Linked DNA regions of Homo sapiens: region 2 is linked to region 1. Evidence: promoter capture Hi-C in human tissues and cell types (Jung and others, 2019). All regions are on one chromosome and are shown on one strand. Each heading gives the region's core, a stretch centred on a gene start or on the middle of the fragment in contact. The rest is flanking DNA. Distances are from core to core; before and after follow the strand shown.

Region 1 (3,102 bases), core at 393-2,892:
GCCCTCCACCAATAACTTTGTTTTATTTATAGTCTCCTGCTCAGAGCTTTTGAACTGGCTCCCATTCCAGGGAAGATCTTGATAGCAACTGTTCCTTGGAGAAGTTTCATAGGTGAATAAACACCACAGAGCTCCTGCCTGTCTAGCAGAGCTTTGCTCCTGGGGGTGTTTACAAGTCGGTATTGGTGTCTGGGTGCATAAGACTTTAAATTCAAAATGACAGTTTGGACATTTTCACTTTTTTTTTGGTTTTCATTTTAAAAAGTTTACCCTTTGACTTCAACAACCTAAAGGCAGAGGCAAAAGGGAGAAACTATCTTTATTCAGAAGGTGACTCCAACAGAAGAAGTCTTCTACGACTTATCTTCTGGCTTTCTTTCCTCCCATCCTGGCCGGGAGCTAGGACGCAGGACCAGTTACGTAGAGGCTATGGGGTGGGGGTAGGGTGGGGAGGCACTCCATGCATTTATAAGAACTAAAATGGCAGAAGTGATGAATGGCATTTCGGGACAGAAAATTGGAAAAAAAAAAAAAAAAAGGAAAAAAAGCCTAATATTAAAAATGTCTTTGGACTTGTGGCCAAAGGTGCCACCTTAAAGCATGACTATGTCACAGGTGTCTGGAATGATTCAGTCTGGACACTAATCTTGGCTTCTTCACTCGTTGCTAGTTATGTGACCTTGGGAATGTGGCTCAGTTTCCTCTTTGTAAATTAGGGAGATGAACACAGGATTATTGTGAGGATTGGCACTAATGATGTACGGAAATACTGTGTCTGATGCAGAAAGGGCACTCACCCGCTCATTAAAGGGTGGCTAATGGTAGCTGTGATTATTGCTTCCTTTATGATCCCTCTGGCCCTAGAGGGGATGAAATTGAGGTGTTCATGGAAGTGAATCCCAAGGGGGAGCAGGGGTAGGTAGCAGGCTGGTGATCTCGGCTCTCAAATCCTTTCATTTGCATTGAGTTAATCTCTATCAGGGACTGTTGTGTTAACAGGAGGCTTCGATGTTGGAGTTCCCAAAACGGCTGATAAAGGGAGGCAGAGGTCCTCAGCGGGAGGGCAGAGCTGAGCCACCACGTGGGTCCACGAAGCCCCCAGGTGGCTTTCCTGTAGGTATGTGGGGTCTCCTTCAAGCTCTAAGGGGAAAGGAAGAGGAAAGGCCTTCAGATGGGGAAGTGGACGGTGTGATGGAGAAGAGGTTCTGCACGGAACTTACTGGAAGGTGCGGGATGTTAAAGGGAAAACGTGTTTTCATGGAGGCCTGGGCGGGGGATTAGCTCTCCGTTAGAGAGGCTGGGTGGGAGGCCTCCAATGGGAGGATTGGTGGCGGTTTCATCGGGAGGGCTTGGGGTCTCCATGAGAGGATTAGGGTCTCTTCAGGGCGGCTGTGAGTGGAGGTTTCCAGCGGGGCGCAGTGGGGTGCAGATGTGTAAGGGCCTGCAACGGAACGCCAGAGTCCTCCGGGGCCCGCGCCCTGGGAGACGTGCGGGTGACCGCGCTCCCGCCCCGCCCCCACCGGCCACGGCCCCGCCCCCGCGAGCGGACTACACTTCCCAGCAGCCCCAGCGGGCAGCGGCGGCGGCAGCGCGGGCGGGAGGGGCGGTGGTGAGAGGCGGAGGGGGCGGCGCGCGCCGGGCACGCGCGCCGGCGACCATGGCGTTCGCCGGGCTGGAGCGAGTACATTAACCCCTGGAGGCGGCGGCGGCGGCGAGGGAGCGAGCCTCGAGCGGGCGGGCCCCAGCCTGAGGGAAGGGAGGAAGGGGCGGGGAGAGCGCCAGAGGGAGGCCGGTCGGCCGCGGGCGGGCGGGCAGCGCAGCGCCGAGCGGGGCCCGCGGGCCCATGAGGAGGCCTGGGGACCATGGGCTCCAGGATCAAGTGAGTGCGGCCGGGCCGGGCGGAGCCGGGCCGGGCGCGGGGCGGCGAGGCCGGGCCAGGGCTGCAGGCCGCGGGCCGCGCGGGGGACTTGTTGCCGAGACCAGAGGGGCGCCCCGCGTGACGCCGGCACGCGGGGAGGGGGACGGTTGCTATGGCGATCCAGGGAGGCGCGGGGGCGGGGTGCGCGCGGGGTGGCAGGGCGCCGGGGGTCAGGTGTCCCCTCCTCACCTGGGGGTCGGAACAGCTGAGATTACAGGGCGGCCCCCTCCCCGGGTTTACGGAGAGCCCCTGAAAATGGTCCTTCAACTGTGGGGAAGGGGAGTGGGAAAGCCCCGGAAGCACCTCCCCATGTTTGGGCATGTTTGGGGCGCCCCTGAAAGTTGGCAGGTCCGGAGAGGTTGCAGCCTGGCCGCTTGAGGCCTGCGGCCCCCACAGAAGTCGCGTGAGGTTCTTAGAGGGAGGGGCCGCTCATGGTGTGGCCACCTAAGGTGTGGATGGCCGGGGAGGAAGGCCTGTCTCTCTATTTCCCCCCTCTTATCTGTGAAAATCTCCACGCAGCAAGGTCCAAAGGCTGTGAAGGAGGATACCTCTGTGTTGTAACCGAGCACCTGCTCTTGATAATCGTTGGAAAGGCTTTGTAACTCAATCTGGCGAATTCCCTCACTCATTCATTCACCTGGAGTTCCCGGTGGAGGGTTAGCTTTCCGGGGAAATTGTTGATACATGTAACTTCAGAATCCACTGAAACATTGTTGCTGTCCTTGTAGACTTAGAAGTTGACTTTGGAAAGTGCAACTCTTAAGCGGTCCAATTTGGGTGTGTGGCTTTCGACTCTATCTCCCCTCCCAGCCAGGTCCTCTTGTGGCCTCTCCCTTCCTCTGCCCCAGAACTGGAGATGTTTTATCTCTAATTACTAACAAATGTTCACTTTTTCCTCTGTGACTAATAGAATTGTTTAAGGGCATTAAAAAGCAAAGTTGACAGCATAGGCTTTTCTGTAAAACAACTTTCCTAGGACACTTTAAACCCTCTTACAAGAAAGTTTGTGGAATGTGTTTATTTCAGCATTTTGAGAATTGTACTAGGGAAGTTTGAAAGGAGAAGGGCCTTAAGGGTGAAACTAATAATTATTCAAACATTGCATCTCATGTCCAGGTGATGCCCGTGCAGTGTGACCCTTGCCCAGCCTTGCAGTCCCCCGTGTGGTTAGGCTTCTCATTTAC
Region 2 (2,745 bases), core at 21-2,520, 280 kb after region 1:
GATGAGAAATACCAAAAAAAGTACATGACAGTTTAGAGAGAATTTGGCTAAATGTTACGTATTTTTAACATACCTGTGTAGAGTTTTTGGAACAAGCACCTGAGTCCCTCAGAATCTGATTGGAGATGGGGGACATGCCTCAATCAAATGGTGTTTTTATTTCAGAAATGTTTCCTTCCCATCCACAAAAGTATCCTTGTGATTTTTTTTTCTCCCACCAAAATAAGGCGCAGGATTTGTCTCTGACGCTGTGTCTCCCTATTTGGACGGCAAGCTGTGTAACATATTTCTCCCCAGCGTGAAGCTTCTTGGCAGACTCTTGAGGCCACGTTTTGGTGGCTTCAGAGTTATCTTTGGATCTGTCAAAAGTGCTAATGGGCTTTCTGGCCTTCTTTAAGCTCCTCATTTCTATTTTCTTTTTACTTCCATCCTCTCCTAAAAGAAAAATTCATGTAATTCATCAGCAGTTAAGCTTTTTACTGAAATGCTCAGTGAAGGGCCTCATATTTTTGTTTGTGAGGAGAGCTGTGCCATGTCACCGTCTTCAGAGCAAACCCCACCCTTACATCATTAGCTCTGTGTTCCTCCGTCCAGTGGAGGAACCAAGATACACTGGTTGACTCCTTCCGACTGCCTTTGGTGTTTGCTGTTTTGTTTTTCACTGAGTTTGTTAAGAGGCAAGTTGGTGTGGTGGTTAGGGTATGAGTTTTGGATTGAGGAGATCTAGTTTTGAAACATGGCTCTCCCCTTTCTAGCTGGGTGACCTTTAGAAGTCTACTGAGACTTCCTGAGCCTCCAGTTTTTTTTTTTTTATTTCTCATCTATATAATGGAGATGATAATGCCTGTCTCAAGCTTGTTGGGAAGATTGGAAAGAACACAGGAAAAGCACCTGTTGCCTGCCACATACAGATCACTCCGTGAATGGGGTAACGGTAATTTTTAACAGAAGCATTTTCCTTTCTTTAGGCATACTTGATCTTGTTGCGTTTCTTTTTCCAAATATGAGTTTTACCTACAATTTTGTGTGGAATAAAAAGAGCATGGATTTAGAGACAGACCCACTCAGGACTGAATCATGTCACATCCACTTACTGCGTGACCTTTGTCAAATTACACAACTTCTCTGTGCCACTGTTTTCTCATCTTCGTAGAGGGATAATAATACTTAGTTCAAGGAACAGTTTGAAGATTAAGTGACATGTTTAATAATAGATGTGAATCTTTCAAACAATAGATGTGCATAAGAGGGACAGTGTTGTGTACGGGAAAGCGTATAGGCCATGGAGTCAGATCTGACTTTGCCAGTTGCTGACCTCTCCCAGACTTTATATTGGAAAGAATAACGCCTCACTGGATTTTTGTGAAGACTGCACAATTACACATCCACAGTGTCTGGTACAGTGGCTGGCACTTGATAGGTAGTTAGTATATAGAGCTGTTAATTCACTTGCTCTGTATTTATAAAGGTTGATGGTTAACTTGGTACTTCAGTCAAACAATAATAAATTATAAGATAAGTGCCCATTTTTACTCCCAGCCCATAATATTGTTGAAAAGCACTTTGTGCTATTTTGCATGTAAAATCCACCTGGTTTACTTCAATTTATGGGTTATAGATCTTTAATCATTATAAACTGCAACGCCTGGCAATAGCATTCCTTCCCTCCCAAACCCCTTTCATTTTCAGAGGATTATATTGTATGGCATTGAAAACCTGTAACATTGAAGAAATTAGCATATTCATGTGTATTATTAAAGTCAGGTGGGTATAGAAAGCGTTGTATAAATGAAACACATTCCATTTTTTTTCTGAAATCTGAAGAGTACCAATCTATAGTACTAATTAAAAGACTGAAGCCCAGGCTACAGGGGTGGAAAAAAGCTAGTTAAAACACTGCTTTGTCACAACTTGCTGCTGTTTGTCTTCAATTTTTTTTCCCCTTTTGAGTGAAATACCTGGAAATTGTAAATGTTCGAAATTGCCTTAATTCCAGCTGAGCCGTTTTAGCAAATGTAAACTGTGAAGGAGGGGATACCAGCAGTGATGACGGGAGAGGAGCTCGCCTGGCCTTCGTGGGTGGCATCTCCTGCACAGAAACAGGCTCAGTGCCAGAAGCATTTTGGTCCCTGGGTACTTTCTTTTGCTTAGGCGTATGGCACAGCACATCGGGAAGGTTCTAGGATCTGGGGCCCAAAGATTTGAGCAGCAGTCCTGTCTTCATTGCTTATTAGACTGTTCCATCTTGGAGAATCTCTTTGAGTCTTGGTTTCCTCATTTGTAAGATATGTAGAATTCCTGTTCTGCTCACCTTTAGGAACTGACCTAAGTGCTGGATGCGACCTCATGTTGTAATCACCACACAAAGATGTAATTGCTCAGGCTCCTTCCTCTGTAAGGTGTCTTCCAACTTTACCCTTCATGATTTTACACATGTGGGGATTTGGCCTCCCAGGTAGAAAGAAAAGGACAGGGAAAGAACAGAGTATACTTTCTGATTATTTTATGTTTCTTATGCTCTTATTAGATACAGTTATAATAAGAACAAAGAAAATCAGCCACAAACCGTGCCTTCTTCTTTCTCCTAGAGAAATCTGACAGAATATTTTGTGGCTGTGGATGTTAACAACATGTTGCATCTGTACGCCAGTATGCTGTACGAACGCCGGATACTCATCATTTGCAGCAAACTCAGCACTGTGAGTAGACAGTCTTAAGACTGGCTTTTTAATGATCTAATTTTAA

Evidence for each region. Contacts are between HindIII fragments. The study calls those that stand out against the background at their distance.
Region 2: a fragment that was not itself captured here is called in contact with the fragment with the promoter of DENND1A in region 1 in 7 of the 25 tissues and cell types used here (adrenal gland, aorta, dorsolateral prefrontal cortex and 4 more).

The regions. Positions count from the first base shown.
Region 1 is chr9:123,928,666-123,931,767 of GRCh38, reverse strand. DENND1A (DENN domain containing 1A) reads left to right here and starts at 1,642. Exons shown (of 24, transcript NM_001352964.2): 1 at 1,642-1,879. The coding sequence starts at 1,863. RefSeq lists a silencer at 1,416-1,905 and enhancers at 2,256-2,455, 2,085-2,770, 2,706-2,785. The HindIII fragment of the contact is 15,721 bases long and covers 1-3,102 here.
Region 2 is chr9:123,651,967-123,654,711 of GRCh38, reverse strand. It overlaps DENND1A (DENN domain containing 1A), which reads left to right. Exons shown (of 24, transcript NM_001352964.2): 9 at 2,589-2,699. Among named protein-coding and RNA genes, the nearest start is that of MIR7150, 170 kb to the right of the region's middle. The HindIII fragment of the contact is 3,988 bases long and covers 1-2,745 here.